Regions from separate parts of the Homo sapiens genome. Here regions 2 and 3 are each linked to region 1. The links are contacts of gene promoters, found by promoter capture Hi-C in human tissues and cell types (Jung and others, 2019). All regions are on one chromosome and are shown on one strand. The core of a region is centred on a gene start or on the middle of the fragment in contact, and the rest is flanking DNA. Distances in the headings are between cores, read along the strand shown.

Evidence for each region. The method cuts DNA at HindIII sites, captures the fragments that hold promoters and counts their contacts. A contact is called where the count stands out against the background at its distance.
Region 2: a contact is called between the fragment with the promoter of PROZ here and the fragment with the promoter of F7 in region 1, in 13 of the 25 tissues and cell types used here (H1 embryonic stem cells, IMR-90 fibroblasts, adrenal gland and 10 more).
Region 3: a fragment that was not itself captured here is called in contact with the fragment with the promoter of F7 in region 1 in 1 of the 25 tissues and cell types used here (liver).

The regions. Positions count from the first base shown.
Region 1 is chr13:113,103,348-113,108,377 of GRCh38, forward strand. It overlaps F7 (coagulation factor VII), which reads left to right and starts at 2,444. Exons shown (of 8, transcript NM_019616.4): 1 at 2,444-2,558. The coding sequence starts at 2,495. The HindIII fragment of the contact is 23,631 bases long and covers 1-5,030 here.
Region 2 is chr13:113,156,575-113,161,604 of GRCh38, forward strand. It overlaps PROZ (protein Z, vitamin K dependent plasma glycoprotein), which reads left to right and starts at 2,074. Exons shown (of 8, transcript NM_003891.3): 1 at 2,074-2,156; 2 at 3,440-3,603; 3 at 4,374-4,398. The coding sequence starts at 2,087. LOC124903216 (a long non-coding RNA gene) reads left to right here. Exons shown (of 4, transcript XR_007063880.1): 4 at 1-36. RefSeq lists enhancers at 1,557-2,134, 2,711-3,288. The HindIII fragment of the contact is 7,105 bases long and covers 1-5,030 here.
Region 3 is chr13:113,138,394-113,143,423 of GRCh38, forward strand. F10 (coagulation factor X) reads left to right here. Exons shown (of 8, transcript NM_000504.4): 3 at 64-88; 4 at 964-1,077; 5 at 2,526-2,657. LOC124903215 (a long non-coding RNA gene) reads right to left here and starts at 964. Exons shown (of 2, transcript XR_007063879.1): 1 at 668-964. RefSeq lists an enhancer at 4,773-5,030. The HindIII fragment of the contact is 4,492 bases long and covers 1-4,317 here.

The sequences.
Region 1 (5,030 bases), core at 1,194-3,693:
TCTGATGTCACAGACATCTGACTCACACACTCCCTGGACAGCTCACGTGTGCCCACCACCACAGTCAGGGATGGCTGCAGATGAACAAGGTGCTGACGTGGTTTCTGTAGCCCCCAAACAAGCAACTTGCCTTGAGATGACAACCAAAGTTTTCCTGTGTCCTCCACACTCAAGAGTGACTGTGAGGCGGAGGGGCCCAGCCCTTCTTGCAGGCGGGAATGAGTGGATGGGTGGATCAACAGAGGCTGCCACAGGAGAGAGGGAGGCCTGGCCTGGGAACAGAGCTGTGACCGTGCCCTTCCCCAGGGTAGGGGCTGAAGGACCCTCCCATCCTAGTGACAGGGCCACAGCATGTCCAAGGAGGCCCCAGAGGAGGTCCCGGGAGTCCTGGGAGAGCCTGGTTAGCCTCCCTGAAGGGAGGAAGTGGGGTTTTGTGAGAGGGATGGTGCAGCAGCCCCCACACCTGCTACTCCGTGTGGCCGGGTCCAGCCCCAGGCAAGGTTCCAGGCATGCCCCTGGGACAGACGTGGGAGGGAGACCAGCAGGCAGGTCCCCCTCAGGGAGGTATGGAGCGGGTCCCCGGGGCCAGGTGGAGCCCCTCACACCTGTGTCCTCAAGGACCCACACCAGGACAATGGCCATAGGCGGGCACCTGCAGCCGCCCTGGCCAGCAGTGAGACGGGCAGAGAGCCCAGCCAGATAGCCCGGTTCCTGCCCCCTCCCGCCTGCCCGCACAGAGAGGGCTGCATGCAGGTGAGGGTCCATCACCTGAAGAGCTTCACCAGCCCCGAGGCCATGAGCCACTGAATCTCTCAGGGGGTTTTGGCGCTTGAGGTTCCCCAGGTCATTCTGCTGCCCAGAGAGGGTTGAGGACCTCTGACCTGGAGCCCCAAAGGGGAAGGGTACCCTAAGACCAGCCAGCCATCTACTCTCAGGTGGGAAAGGGGTAGGGTTTAGATATGGCCCCCTCCCCTCCACGTCCTGAAATTACCTTGGGCTGTGCTGGCCGAGAGCCGCGGGGACCAGATTTGAGCTGGACGTGAGCTTTATTCCAGACGGAGCAGCTACTTTGTAAGCGATCTCCCTGGGATCGATATCATGGAGGGGCACAGATGGGCTTCAGCTGTGCTGGGTGGAAGAGAAAACATGCCCTGTCGGCCCCTCAGCAAGTGCTCTGCTCTCTGGACTGAGATGCAGGTCAGCAGCAAGCAGGGAGGCTTTGGGGGTGCTGGGGGCTGCTTTGAAAGGCACCCCTGAGCTAAGACTTGGCTGTTGGGAAGGAATCACCTCCCTCCCTCCAGCCGTAAAAAGAACTGGACATCAGCTTCCAAAGAAGTCATCAGCAATGCAACTGTTCACATGGAGGATACTCCCTGCTTGAGGGGTCAGACAGGCCTGCTGGGCAACCCAGGAGGCTTGGATGACCGTCTACCCCAGTGTTTTTGGGATGGAAAGTTCCACATTCTGAGAACCCTCAGTCCCTGGGCAACCTGGGGTGGTTAGTCACCACAGCTTGTGGCTTGGGCCCATGACAGCAGGTAGAAATGACGTGGACTGCCGCCAGCCGGGCACAGTGGCTCACGCCTGTAATCCCAGCACTTTGGGAGGCTGAGGCATGTGGATCACTTGAGGTCAGGAGTTCGAAACCAGCCTGGTCAACACGGTGAAACCCCATCTCTGCTAAAAAAAAAAAATATATATATATAAATTAGCCAGGCATGGTGACGTGCACCTGTGGTCCCAGCTACTCAGGAGGCTGAGGCACAAGAATCACTTGAACCCGGGAGGTGGAGGTTGCAGTGAGATTGCACCAGTGCACTCTCCAGCCTGGCAACAGAGCAAGACTCTGTCTCAAACAAACAAAACAAAACAAACAAAAAGACGTAAGATGTGGACCGCTGGAGAATGGGGGTGCTGCCTGCAGTCAAAACGGAGTGGGGGTGCCCAGCTCAGGGCCAGAATGATCCTATTCCCGGCACTTCTCAGTGAGGCTCTGTGGCTCACCTAAGAAACCAGCCTCCCTTGCAGGCAACGGCCTAGCTGGCCTGGTCTGGAGGCTCTCTTCAAATATTTACATCCACACCCAAGATACAGTCTTGAGATTTGACTCGCATGATTGCTATGGGACAAGTTTTCATCTGCAGTTTAAATCTGTTTCCCAACTTACATTAGGGGTTTGGAATTCTAGATCGTATTTGAAGTGTTGGTGCCACACACACCTTAACACCTGCACGCTGGCAACAAAACCGTCCGCTCTGCAGCACAGCTGGGGTCACCTGACCTTTCTCCTGTCCCCCCCACTTGAGCTCAGTGGCTGGGCAGCAGGGGATGCATGGCCACTGGCCGGCCAGGTGCAGCTCTCAGCTGGGGTGTTCAGAGGACGCCTGTGTCCTCCCCTCCCCCATCCCTCTGTCACCCTTGGAGGCAGAGAACTTTGCCCGTCAGTCCCATGGGGAATGTCAACAGGCAGGGGCAGCACTGCAGAGATTTCATCATGGTCTCCCAGGCCCTCAGGCTCCTCTGCCTTCTGCTTGGGCTTCAGGGCTGCCTGGCTGCAGGTGCGTCCGGGGAGGTTTTCTCCATAAACTTGGTGGAAGGGCAGTGGGCAAATCCAGGAGCCAGCCCGGGCTTCCCAAACCCCGCCCTTGCTCCGGACACCCCCATCCACCAGGAGGGTTTTCTGGCGGCTCCTGTTCAATTTCTTTCCTTCTAGAAACCAGCATCCAGGCACAGGAGGGGAGGCCCTTCTTGGTGGCCCAGGCTTTGGCGGGATTATTTTTCAAAGAACTTTAGGAGTGGGTGGTGCTTTCCTGGCCCCCATGGGCCCCTGCCTGTGAGGTCGGACAAGCGCAGGGAGTCTGGGGCCTCTCAGAGTGCAGGAAGTGCGCACAGGGTGCTCCCAGGCTGGGGAGCACAGGTAGGGGACGGTGCGTGGGGGATGGCGCCTGGGGCATGGGGGATGGGGTGTGGGAAACGGCATGTGGGGCGTAGGGGATGGGGTGTGGAGGATCGGGGGTGGGGATGGCGTGTGGGGTGTGGGGGATGGGCCGTGGGGGGGTGGGGCCTGGGAAACAGCATGTGGGGCATGGGGTGTGGGGGTGAGGTGTGGGAAAGTGTGTGGGGTGTGGGGGATGGGGCATGGAAAGGGCGTGTGGGGTGCAGGGGATGGGGCATGGAGGTGTGGGGGATGGGGTGTGTGGGGTGTCGGGGATGGGGCATGTGGGGTGTGGGGGATGGGGCATGGAAAGGGCGTGTGGGGTGCAGAGGATGGGGCATGGGGGGGTGGGGATGGCGAGTGGGGCTGGGGCCTGGGAATGGTGAGTGGGGCATGGGGATGGCGAGTAGGGGGTGTGGCGTGAGGATGGCTAGTGGGGCGTGGGGATGGCGTGTGGGGATGGCGAGTGGGGGGTGGGCTGTGAGGGACAGTGCCTGGGATGTGGGGCTGCAGCCCTAGCTCACAGCATGGCCTTATGACCCCGGCCACCTTCCTGCCCCAGGCGGGGTCGCTAAGGCCTCAGGAGGAGAAACACGGGACATGCCGTGGAAGCCGGGGCCTCACAGAGGTGAGCAGGGACTGCCACTGGTTTTGTCCTGGGGCCCAGTGGGGGCCAACATCACCTCCTTCCCCTCCCATGGCAAAGAGCCAGCCCGCGGGGTGGCTACTGCAGTGCCCCCCAAGGAGGGTGTTCCCTGCTCGAGAGGAAGTGACCGCTCCAGCTTGGCCTTCCCTGGGACTGGGGTGCAGGCGATTTTATCTTCTTTGCTCCATTCTGTTCCTTCCAGATAATCGTGTGTTCTTCATCAGGTTTTCCTCAGTTCTTGAGAGCTTTTCTGATGCAAATCTGCTTTCACCCCAGGGCGGTCACCGGCTCTGCTCACACCAGCCTCCAAGGGTGTGGGTGTCCCGGGAGTGTGGGTGTCCCGGGGGCGTGGGTGTCCCAGGAGTGTGGGTGTCCCGGGGGCGTGGGTGTCCCGGGAGTGTGGGTGTCCCGGGGGCGTGGGTGTCCCGGGAGTGTGGGTGTCCCGGAGGCGAGGGTGTCCCGGGAGTGTGGGTGTCCCGGGGGAGTGGGTGTCCCGGGAGTGTGGGTGTCCCGGAGGCGAGGGTGTCCCGGGAGTGTGGGTGTCCCGGGGGCGTGGGTGTCCCGGGAGTGTGGGTGTCCCGGGGGAGTGGGTGTCCCGGGAGTGTGGGTGTCCCGGAGGCGAGGGTGTCCCGGGAGTGTGGGTGTCCCGGGGGAGTGGGTGTCCCGGGAGTGTGGGTGTCCCGGAGGCGAGGGTGTCCCGGGAGTGTGGGTGTCCCGGGGGCGTGGGTGTCCCGGGAGCGTGGGTGTCCCGGGGGCGTGGGTGTCCCGGGAGTGTGGGTGTCCCGGGGGCGTGGGTGTCCCGGGAGTGTGGGTGTCCCGGGGGCGTGGGTGTCCCGGGAGTGTGGGTGTCCCGGGAGTGTGGGTGTTCCGGAGGCGAGGGTGTCCCGGGAGTGTGCGTGTCCCGGGGGCGTGGGTGTCCCGGGGGCGTGGGTGTCCCGGGGGCGTGGGTGTTCCGGAGGCGAGGGTATCCCAGAAGTGTGAGTGTCCCAGGGGCGTGGGTGTCCCGGGGGTGTGGGTGTCCCGGGGGCGTGGGTGTCCCGGGAGTGTGGGTGTTCCGGAGGTGAGGGTGTCCCGGGAGTGTGGGTGTTCCGGAGGCGAGGGTGTCCCGGGAGTGTGGGTGTCCCGGGGGCGTGGGTGTCCCGGGAGTGTGGGTGTTCCGGAGGTGAGGGTGTCCCGGGAGTGTGGGTGTTCCGGAGGCGAGGGTGTCCCGGGAGTGTGGGTGTCCCAGGGGCGTGGGTGTCCCGGGAGTGTGGGTGTTCCGGAGGCGAGGGTGTCCCGGGAGTGTGGGTGTTCCGGAGGCGAGGGTGTCCCGGGAGTGTGGGTGTCCCGGGGGCGTGGGTGTCCCGGGGGTTGTGGGTGTCCCGGGAGTGTGGGTGTTCCGGAGGCGAGGGTGTCCCGGGAGTGTGGGTGTTCCGGAGGCGAGGGTGTCCCGGGAGTGTGGGTGTCCCG
Region 2 (5,030 bases), core at 824-3,323, 53 kb after region 1:
GGAGCCTTGATCTTGGACTTCCCATCCTCCAGAACTGTGAGCACTACGTTTCTGTTTATCGTAAATTACCCACTCTAAGGTGTTTTGTTACAGCAGCCCCAACAGACTAAAATGGTCCATGAGGGAAGAGGTTGTAGCTCAGATACCCATGTCAGGCATATAGGATGTGCTTAATTAACACTTATTGATCGAATGTGTATGTCCCTGTCTGCCTTTCCATTTTTAGGCAGCTATTGATGGTTTTTAAACTATCCAGCAGAAGTATTTTTAATGTAAATTTCCATGTGGGAATACATTTTCACACAAAAAAAGGCACCTTTTCTTAAGTGAAGGCCACGTAGATTGCCAGGCTGGTGCAATTCACCCAAGAGCTATCCTATACAATCAACTTCTGGCTTTCAAATTATTTTAACTCACTCACTAAAGATAAACTTTATTTTCTTTTCCCAGCTTTTTAAAGCAAACTTCACAACTTCAGTGTATTTGCGGGCATGCCCTCTTAATCAAGGGTGTCAGCTTCTTAGTTTTCTTCTGTTCCCACTTTAACAAAATTGTATTTAGAATCCTTTCATTGAGTTTTGCCACCTTTGAGTGTCATTCAATCGAACAATATCTATATGCTGACAATGCTGTCATTTCATCTGTTACCACCTGAATCTCCACTGTGAGTCCCAGCTTCTCGGATGCCCACTCCTGTCTCCACCTGGACATCCCACAGACACCTCAAATTTGCCAAACCTCGCTTCCCTCTGCCCTCCTGGAGCTTGGCCGTCTCAGCACACGCACTGCCATCCTCCCAATCGCTCAGCCCAAACCTTGGAGCCGTGCTGCCCGACACAATTCATCATGAATCCCATCAGCTTTCCCTTCCTGAAGCATCCAGACTGCAAACGTGCTTCCTGCTGCATGGCTGCACCCTCACCCCCTCCTGGACTAGCCGGCAGCCTCCCTTTTGACTTCTCTGGAATGTTCTGTTCTCCACACAGCAGCCCAGTGATCCCTTCAGAGCACAAATCTTTCCATGTCAATTCCTGTTCCCTCCAATATCTTCCCAACACAGTGAAAATGAAACACCAGGTTCTTACCTCAGGCTTCAAGGGCTGATATGGTTTGGCTGTGTCCCCACCGAAATCTTATCTTGAATTGTAATCCCCATAGTCCCCACGTGTCCTGGGAGGGACCCGGTGGGAGGTAATTGAATCATGGGGGTGGTTTCCACCATGCTATTCTTGGGATAGTGAGTGAGTCTCAAGAGATTTGATGGTTTTATAAGGATCTGGCATTTCCCCTGCTTCAGTCATTCTCTCTGCTGCCACCCTGTGAAGAGGTGCCTTCTGCCATAATTATAAGTTTCCTGAGGCCTCCCCAGCCATGTGGAACTGGGAGTCAACTAAACCTCTTTTCTTAAATTACCCAGTCTTGGCTATTTCTTCATAACAGTGTAAGAAGGGACTAATACACAGGGCCTACATCTGAAAGCAGCAAACGACAACCCTGGGGCCAAATCTGGCCCCTTAATAGCTCTTATAAATAAAGCTTTATTGGCACACAGCCAAGTGTTCATTCATGATTGTCTATGCTGCCTCTGCTACAATGGTGCTGAGCTGTAGTGACAGACACTATTTGGCCCTTCCCCGCTTTCTCCCTCCTCCCTCCCTCCCTTCCTTTTCTCCCCTTCCTTCTTTCCATCCTCCTGCTTTCCCTCCCTCACTCCCTCCTGTCTCTTTCCCTCGTTCTTTTCTGTGTATTCCACACACACCTAGAACGTAAGCTGCATGTGACTTTGTCTGTCCCGCCCAGTGCTGTGTCCCCAGGGCCTATCTCACCTCCATTGACCACACACGGGCATGGGTGCCACCTTCCACCTTGCACCTGCTGCCTTTACCTTCTGTTCTCTGTCTCCCTAAATATCTCCCAGGGTCCTCTGAGCCTTCACCGTTCATTTCTCTGCCTGGCCTCAAACAGAAAACGTCAGGAGGGAAGCACACAGCTGCACAGGTCGTGCCCCGAGGCTCCTGCTGCCGGCACCTCCCCCAGCCTGGACTTTGGCTGTGTTTGTAGCCCTGTCCCAGCGCTCCGGGTGGGAATGGCAGGCTGCGTCCCACTGCTCCAGGGCCTGGTCCTGGTCCTCGCCCTCCATCGTGTGGAGCCCTCAGGTAGGCATCTGGCTTACCTGTCTGTTGTGCCTGTGCTGTGTCTTTCTTGACTCGGTCCATGGTGGATTTGTAGATGAGGCTTTTTCCAGGAGCCAGAGGAGCCCTGAGTGCCCAGACTAGTCTTAATTCCCCTGAAAAAGCTGTTTGGATCTTTATCATTTGGTGACAAGTATTTGGGACATGATAGTGTCACTTGGGGTCCTCCCAAGAGATGCCCAAATGGAAAGAAGCCTGTGTGCAGGGGATTCAGCCGGGAAAGGCCGGGGAGAGGGGAGGGGGAAAGGGGGAGGAGTGGGGGGAGGCCTGGGTTGGGCATTGGACGAGGGGAGGGGGTGGGGCAGGCTGAGCCCAGACTGCAATGTGGGCAGAGAGAGCCTTGGCCAGGCCAGCCAGGAATGCCCAGTCTTGAGTCAGGAGACATAGCCAGGGAGCAGCCACCCTGCCTGCCTGCCACCCTTCTACCACCAGCCACTTCACTGAAGGAACGACATGGACTCCATTCTGACTCTGCCTGCACAGGCGTCCAGGAAAGCTGCAAGTCAAAACACCCAGCATCCCCGCTGGCCCCATGGTCTCCCGCTGGCCCCATGGTCTCCCACCCTGAGAGGGTGATCCCCCCGCCCTGCCCTGCCCAGCACTTACCGTAGCCGGACTTAGCTGAGCCCCCCCTGCTGTAACCCTCAGCACCGAGAGAAAAGGAGGGAGGATGGGAAGGGCCTGGGCTTTGACCCTCCCGGAGAGGGAGAGAACATGCTTTGGGACCCTCAGGTGGGAAGAGGCTCCAGAGACCACTGCCGCGGGTCAACTCATTTGCCTTCTCCTCCTGGAAATCGCAGAGCCTGCTGCAATGTATAAGTTTCTTCTTTATGTGTTTTATCAAGATGTTAAATGCTGCGCACAGAGGCAGCACAGGAGCTGATGGCTCTTGGTCCCCAGTTCTCAGTACGGGGACCTTTGACCCCAGCTCAGCCTTCCTTCGCACTCAGACCCAAAACCCAGTTGGAGCCCTCCCTCCTCCACTTTCCTGACTGAGGCCCGTGGCCTCTCTGCAGAACCTTAGTGTATCCGCACTGATCCTGGGGCTGATCCATTCGCCCAGAGGATGAAGTGCTTGCCTACCTCGGGGGAGGGAGTAGCGGGGTGGCCCTGAGGCCCTCGCAGGCTGAGAGCCTGTGGAGACGGACGGGGCTGGGGCTGGCGGCCGGCCGGGGAGGAAGCCAGGCAGCTCTGGAAAGCAGGGCCCTCGGTGCTCCCAGTCACCTGCCTTCTTGTCTCGTCTGTAGTATTTCTCCCGGCCTCCAAAGCAAACGACGTTCTGGTGAGGTGGAAGCGTGCGGGCTCCTATCTTCTGGAAGAACTCTTCGAGGGAAACTTGGAAAAAGAATGTTATGAAGAAATCTGTGTCTATGAAGAAGCAAGAGAAGTGTTTGAAAATGAAGTAGTCACTGTATGTACCCCCACCACAAACCACAGGCCTCCTCATTATTTAGACTTCTGCTGGCCCAGGGAGCATCATTTCTCAGAGATTAAGCTTAATTAATTAGCCTATTTACTTACCGATGAGGTTGACACAATCCCAGTTTTACAGATGAGGAAACAATTTAGAGAATCGACTTAATCCACCTTTCCCTACAGCAGTGAGTGGGGCTGGAAGTCAGCTCAGAGCCCACTGGACTCATTTCTTCAGGTCAGGCAAGGCCCACACACTGATCAGACACCCAGCATACATTTTCTTTCTAGGCTTCAAGTCTGAATAATTCTCCTAATTTTAGATACTCCTACCCCAAACTAAGTGTCCCCACTCCCTACAGAGGTATATATCTTTAAAATTCAACTCGGTTTATAAAAAGCGAAAAGGTGATGTGACTTCTATATCATGTGCTTTTGTGGAGGGTGGCGTGGAGATTGGCCCTAGAAGGGAAGGGCCACGTTAGGGGCTGTGGGTGGTGGGTTTGTGCCATGTCATAGACTCTGGCCTTCCTCAAATAGGTGGTGGTAAGCACATGTTGAGTAATATATCTTACAGATACATTTAGTTACTATACATTTAACATAAACAAATAGGCTGTAAAACAGGAAAATTGTGCATTGTTTCAACCACTATTGTCCTATTAAGTGAATAAAATCAACATTTTCTTACCTTCAAGTTCATCTACAGGAAAGAATATAGAAAAACAAATATCCCATTTGTAACATTTTTATGTTTTAACTCTAAAGGATGAATTCTGGAGACGATATAAGGGTAAGTGGTTTCCTTCGTCTCCTCAGAAGTATTAATTCCTCGGGATGAGGTGCGTGGGTGGGCTTAGGACGCTTCACGACCCCAGCTCAGCGGATGCCAAGCCTCTGGCTCCAGGACCCACGGTGTCTCTCCAGGGAAGGGCAGCTCCGACTCTCCCCAAGGACCAGGTCAGGAAGCCCCCGGGCTCTGCCACCAGGGCCACAGGCAGTGCCTGGTTTGTCTTGCCCAGTGTCTGGGTAGTTTCTTGGCACTCTGGGACATGGGCCACAGGCCAGGAGGGCCCCCCCAGAGCAGCTCCTCCAGCCGCCTGGCTCCTGGGCTCCTGGGAAGCCTCATGCTGCAGCAGGGTCAGAACTCGTCTCAAATTTTGGAAAGTCATGGCCCCGATGGAGACTTTGGTTAGGAGACTCCTCCCAAGGGAGGAGCTCTAGGTGGGCAACTGCAGAAGAGCATGGGACAGAAGTAACACAGATGGAGACCCACGGGGCTGGGGGAGGCCAGGGTAAGGACCCACCTGGGAATGAGTAAGCAAAGAGCTGCAGCCACCACCAGACAAGCACGGGGACAACTGGGCACAGAAGGAAGCGGGAGAGGCAGGGAAGGCCGGAGAAGGGCTGATGGGGCGGGACAGA
Region 3 (5,030 bases), core at 822-3,321, 35 kb after region 1:
GTTATTGGTATAAAATGTCTCTGTTTTCCCTAATATATTTTTAAATTTCTTTTTTCCTTTTAGAATGAATTCTGGAATAAATACAAAGGTCAGTATTTTTTCTGTTTTAACCTTCAGTGAGAGGGGTTCATCAGGATATTTGAATTTTGAAAATAGTTCCTGAATTTCCTTTCTGCTTTTGTTCTCATTTTACTCATTTAAGACTTTTTCCCTCAGGGTGTTTCCATAATAGTTATTGTAAAAGAGTTTTTAGAGTAATTTTATACTAATCCTAGTTTTGTTATTGAGTTAGAGATATATATTTAAATCAGTTCATTCTCATTTGAGGATACCAAATTCCATGATAACTTTTCTTAAATAAAAGTGTATTCGGTAAAAGCAAAAAACAGAGTCTGAAAGATTAGATTCCCGACTAAGGTAACCACCTTGATTTAATGCTTAATAGCATCTGAAGTGGCCTCAGTCATGACTACCTGGTAACAGTATTCACATTTCTCAAAATGACAACTGGGCCTATCTCTAAATGAGATTGTGTAAATCCTCCAAGAAATGGGAAGCCCCGTGTTAGTGTTTGCCTTCTCCTTTTGCCCCAGGATGATTTGGAAAGAGGAACCCTAACCTCCTCTCCCGTCAAGGCCCAGCCCAGAAATGAGCATCAGGCTCTCACCTTTCCTCCATCCTTCCAGTTGGTCCCTGTGGTCACCTCTGACTGTAAACACACTGCAAAACACCGGCAAAAATCAAAAAGCTGGGCCGGTGATCCACCTAGATAAAGGCATCACGTACACATGGCCACAAAAGGGGGTGGATCAAATAAAGTCCAAAGAGGGGGAGTTGTTTACAGAGAAACCGGAAGACTCTTCCAGTTATCTGAACGGCAGGGCCAAGGTTAGCACAGCAAAACTGTTTCCATGATGCCGGAAACAGCTTGCAGACTCCAGTTTCGAAATCCTCTCTTTGCAGATGGCGACCAGTGTGAGACCAGTCCTTGCCAGAACCAGGGCAAATGTAAAGACGGCCTCGGGGAATACACCTGCACCTGTTTAGAAGGATTCGAAGGCAAAAACTGTGAATTATGTAGGTTCCTCTGCTTGGTATACCTTCAGATCAGATGCCCCTGAAGAGTGGCAGGTGGGCGGGGGAAGAAGTGAAAACGCCTAATGAAACAATCTTAAGTCATTTCTGATTTACAAAGTCTGGGCTCTATTATACCTATTATACTGTGCCACTATAGCAATAGAAAAAAAAGCCCCAATATGTCCCCCAAACGATTCGGTTTGGGGGCATGATGAGAGAGACACAGTCACTTCTCTGCTCCTCCGAGAGAGACTGTAGAACATTGATGAAGCGTGTGATCCATTCATGTGTAAACAGGAGTGGACTCTCTGTTTTCCTTGGGGCCAAGTGCATTGCCCTGTTATTCCTGCTCCTTGTGACCCTGTGCAGTGATTCTAAATCACCTCTTATTTATGTGTATGGATGCAGGTGTCAATATTTGTGAATATTTGTGATTGGCCAATTATAAAAATTTGATACATTTAATTAGTTCTACGTGGAAAAATCACTAAGTGCTTTCTCTAATGTGGTGATTAAGTTTTAAATAAAAAGTTAGGCTACTGTTAGATCAATTTCCCTAAGGAAAAAGATTTGCATTTCTTTTAAAGTACTTAATTGATCATCTTTTTTTTTTTTTTTTTTGAGATGGAGTCTCGCTCTGTGGCCCAGGCTAGAGTGCAGTGGCACGATCTCAGCTCACCGCAAGCTCCGCCTGCCAGGTTCACGCCATTCTCCTGCCTCAGCCTCCCAAGTAGCTGGGACTATAGGCCCCGGCCACCAGTCCCGGCTAATTTTTTTTTTTTTTAATTTTTTAGTGGAGACGGGGTTTCACCGTGTTAGCCAGGATGGTCTCGATCTCCTGACCTGGTGATCCGCCCGCTTCGACCTCCCAAAGTGCTGGGATTACAGGCGTGAGGCACAGCGCCGGCCTAATTGATCATCTTTAGACTGTGTTCTTAGATTGGATTACTTTTGAGTTTTCCCTGATGAGAATATCAATTACGCATCATTCCATTCCAAGTCCGCAGTCGCCTCCCTGGAACACCATTTGGTAACTTATGAGGCATAACCCTGTTCAGGCTCCCAGGGCTATTATGCACATTTTCTAAAATTTCAGGCATGTTGATCTTTGCACTGTGATTACTTTTTCATCAAAAGCCACACAGAGGGATGTGGAGTGACCGTAATGTGAGTGCTGCTGGGGCAGGGGGTACCGGCCATCCCGGAGGTGTGAGGGGCAGGTACCTGGAGCCTGGCTTCTGGCTACACCGGGCACTGCACCATGAGCTCCCCGTGACCCGTGAGGTTGCCCTTCAAGGCAAGTGTACCTGTCGCCTGGCTCTGGCCCTTTGCTCAACCCAATGGCCGCTTTGTGGCTGACAGGCAAGTGGATGTAGCTGGCACCCTTGGGCCAGCCCAGCCTCCATTTCTCCAGCTGTCCCCAGAGCCAACGTGCCTCTCCTTTGCAGTCACACGGAAGCTCTGCAGCCTGGACAACGGGGACTGTGACCAGTTCTGCCACGAGGAACAGAACTCTGTGGTGTGCTCCTGCGCCCGCGGGTACACCCTGGCTGACAACGGCAAGGCCTGCATTCCCACAGGTAGGAGGCACGTTGGGCCACAGCCACCCGCTGCCGCTGGGCCGGGCCAGGGAGGACAAGCCCGTGCCAGGGGGTGGGGACACAGGCATGTTCTGGGCGGGCCTGGCAGGTAACAGTGACACCAAGAGGACAGGACTGAGCCCTGGGCTCCGGGCCCAGGTGGTTCAAACATGAAGACCATGAGGTTTGGAAACAGACCCATTATTTCTGTAAGCCAGATCTGCTGTTTAACCTCAGCTTCCCCATCTGACAAATGGGACCAACACTATTGCCTGACTGCTTGGGTGATCCCTGGAGCACTTTGCATGATGCCTGGCCCACCGCAGGCCCTCAGTCTGCATTGGGACTGTGGGGGGATCCAGTGCAAGGGCTCAAAGCACCAGGGCAGGCAAAGGGCAGAGCTGGCCCGAGGAACTGGAGCTAAGGTGCGGGGCTGGGATAGGAGTCAGGGGACGCTCAGGCTCTGAGCTCCTTTTACCAGGACCAGTGTTCATTGAACGTAGTTTTTCTTTTCCTTGATGAATGTGGACAACAGGCGGCCAGAGGGCAGTGAGCACAGGACAGGCAGGGGACTGGGCAGGGTGGGGACGAGCCTCCCTGTCCTGACCCCGTGGGCATTGCCTACGCTGGGCTTGCCTGGCTGCCGGCACTTCCACACGGCCAGCACACATGAGGCCCTCGAAGGCGGGGCCTAGGCGTCACAGCTGCACCTTGCACAGCAACCCCACTCCCACTCATAGCTGGCCCGACCCGCAGCGTTGGCCTCACCCGGGGGCATATTCGAAGGGCAGAGTTCCAGGCCCGCCTTTTCAAGAGCCTGGTGACCCAGCTCACCTTCCGGCTTCAGGTGCGGCTCAGCCCCCAGACCGTGTTCTGCCCCCGGCTACCATGACTGTCCCCTCCAGACACAGGTTACTCCCGAGTGTTCTGTCACTCTTCCTTTCATATCCTTCTTACCGAAAACAATTTACTTCCAAAGATGAGTGATCACGAAAAGACCGGGTTCCATATGCATCCTTCAAGCGCTGCTTCAATTATGTGCCTGAAACATCTCAGCAAGTGAAAGACACTGTGGCTGACCTTGCTACTGGCAATGACATTCAAGCTTAAGCTGGTTAAAAAATATTTTAACTGAAGTCATTTCTTGACATACACACGAATATTTTTTAATTCTAGAAACAATCACAAATCCATTTAAAACCAAGTGTGGGCCGGGTGCAGTAGCTCATGCCTGTAATCCCAGCATTTTGGGAGGCCAAGGCGGGCGGATCATGAGGTCAGGAGATCGAGACCATCCTGGCCAACACAGTGAAACCCCGTCTCTAGTAAAAATACAAAAAAAAAAAAAAATTAGCTGGGCATGGTGGTGCACGCCTGTAGTCCCAGCTGCTCAGGAGGCTGAGGCAAGAGAATGGCGTGAACCTGGAAGGCGGAGCTTGCACTGAGCACTGAGCCGAGATTGCGCCACTGCGCTCCAGCCTGGGCAACAGAATGAGACTCTGTCTCAAAAAAAAAAAAAAAAAAAAAATCAAAAGGCAAATGTGATGTGTGAAAATAAAATTACATAATCTACTTTGTAGTGCAAAAAGTTCAGGCTGGGCAAGGTGGCTCACGCCTGTAATCCCAGCACTTTGGGAAGCCAAGGTGGGTGGATCACCTGAGGTCAGGAGTTCAAGACCAGCCTGGCCAACATGGTGAAACCCTGTCTCTATAAAAAAAAAAATACAAAAACTTAGCTGGGCGTGGTGGCGCACGCCTGTAATCCCAGCTACTCGGGAGGCTGAGGCAGGAGAATCGCCTGAACCCAGGAGGTGGAGGTTGCAATGAGCCAAGATCATGCCATTGCACTCCAGCCTGGGAGACAAGAGAGAAACTCCATCTCAAAAAAAAAAAAAAGTTCAGTTCCAAATAATGGATGAACTCAGAACTTGGAAGGGTGGTGACTGCACACATGGACAGAGCTGAGGCACGGCGGGGTGGAGGCCCCTGCGGCTGGCAGATTCACCGGAGCCTCCTCAGACTGCGCAGGAGCACAGCAAGTAAACAGCTAAGCTGTGCCCATCTGACCCCAGACACGTGTGGCCACAGAGAAGCCCCTTGCCATCCATTCCCCCCTCCTCTCCTCTCCTGCTCCCCCACACCCCTGCCTTCCTCCAACATGTTTCAGCCATTCTCTTGGCCTTGGTGCCCTAATTGGCCGTTATACAAAAGGAAGCTTCCTAACATCTCGGCGTGGCCTCTCTGGGAGCTGTGCTATTCCAGACGCTCTCCTGTGCCTCCAGTTGTTTGCGTGCGCCATTCCTTCTGCCTGAAAACTTTTTTTTCTTCAATGTTTCATTAGGAAAAGTTTTCCAACACACAGCACACTGGAAA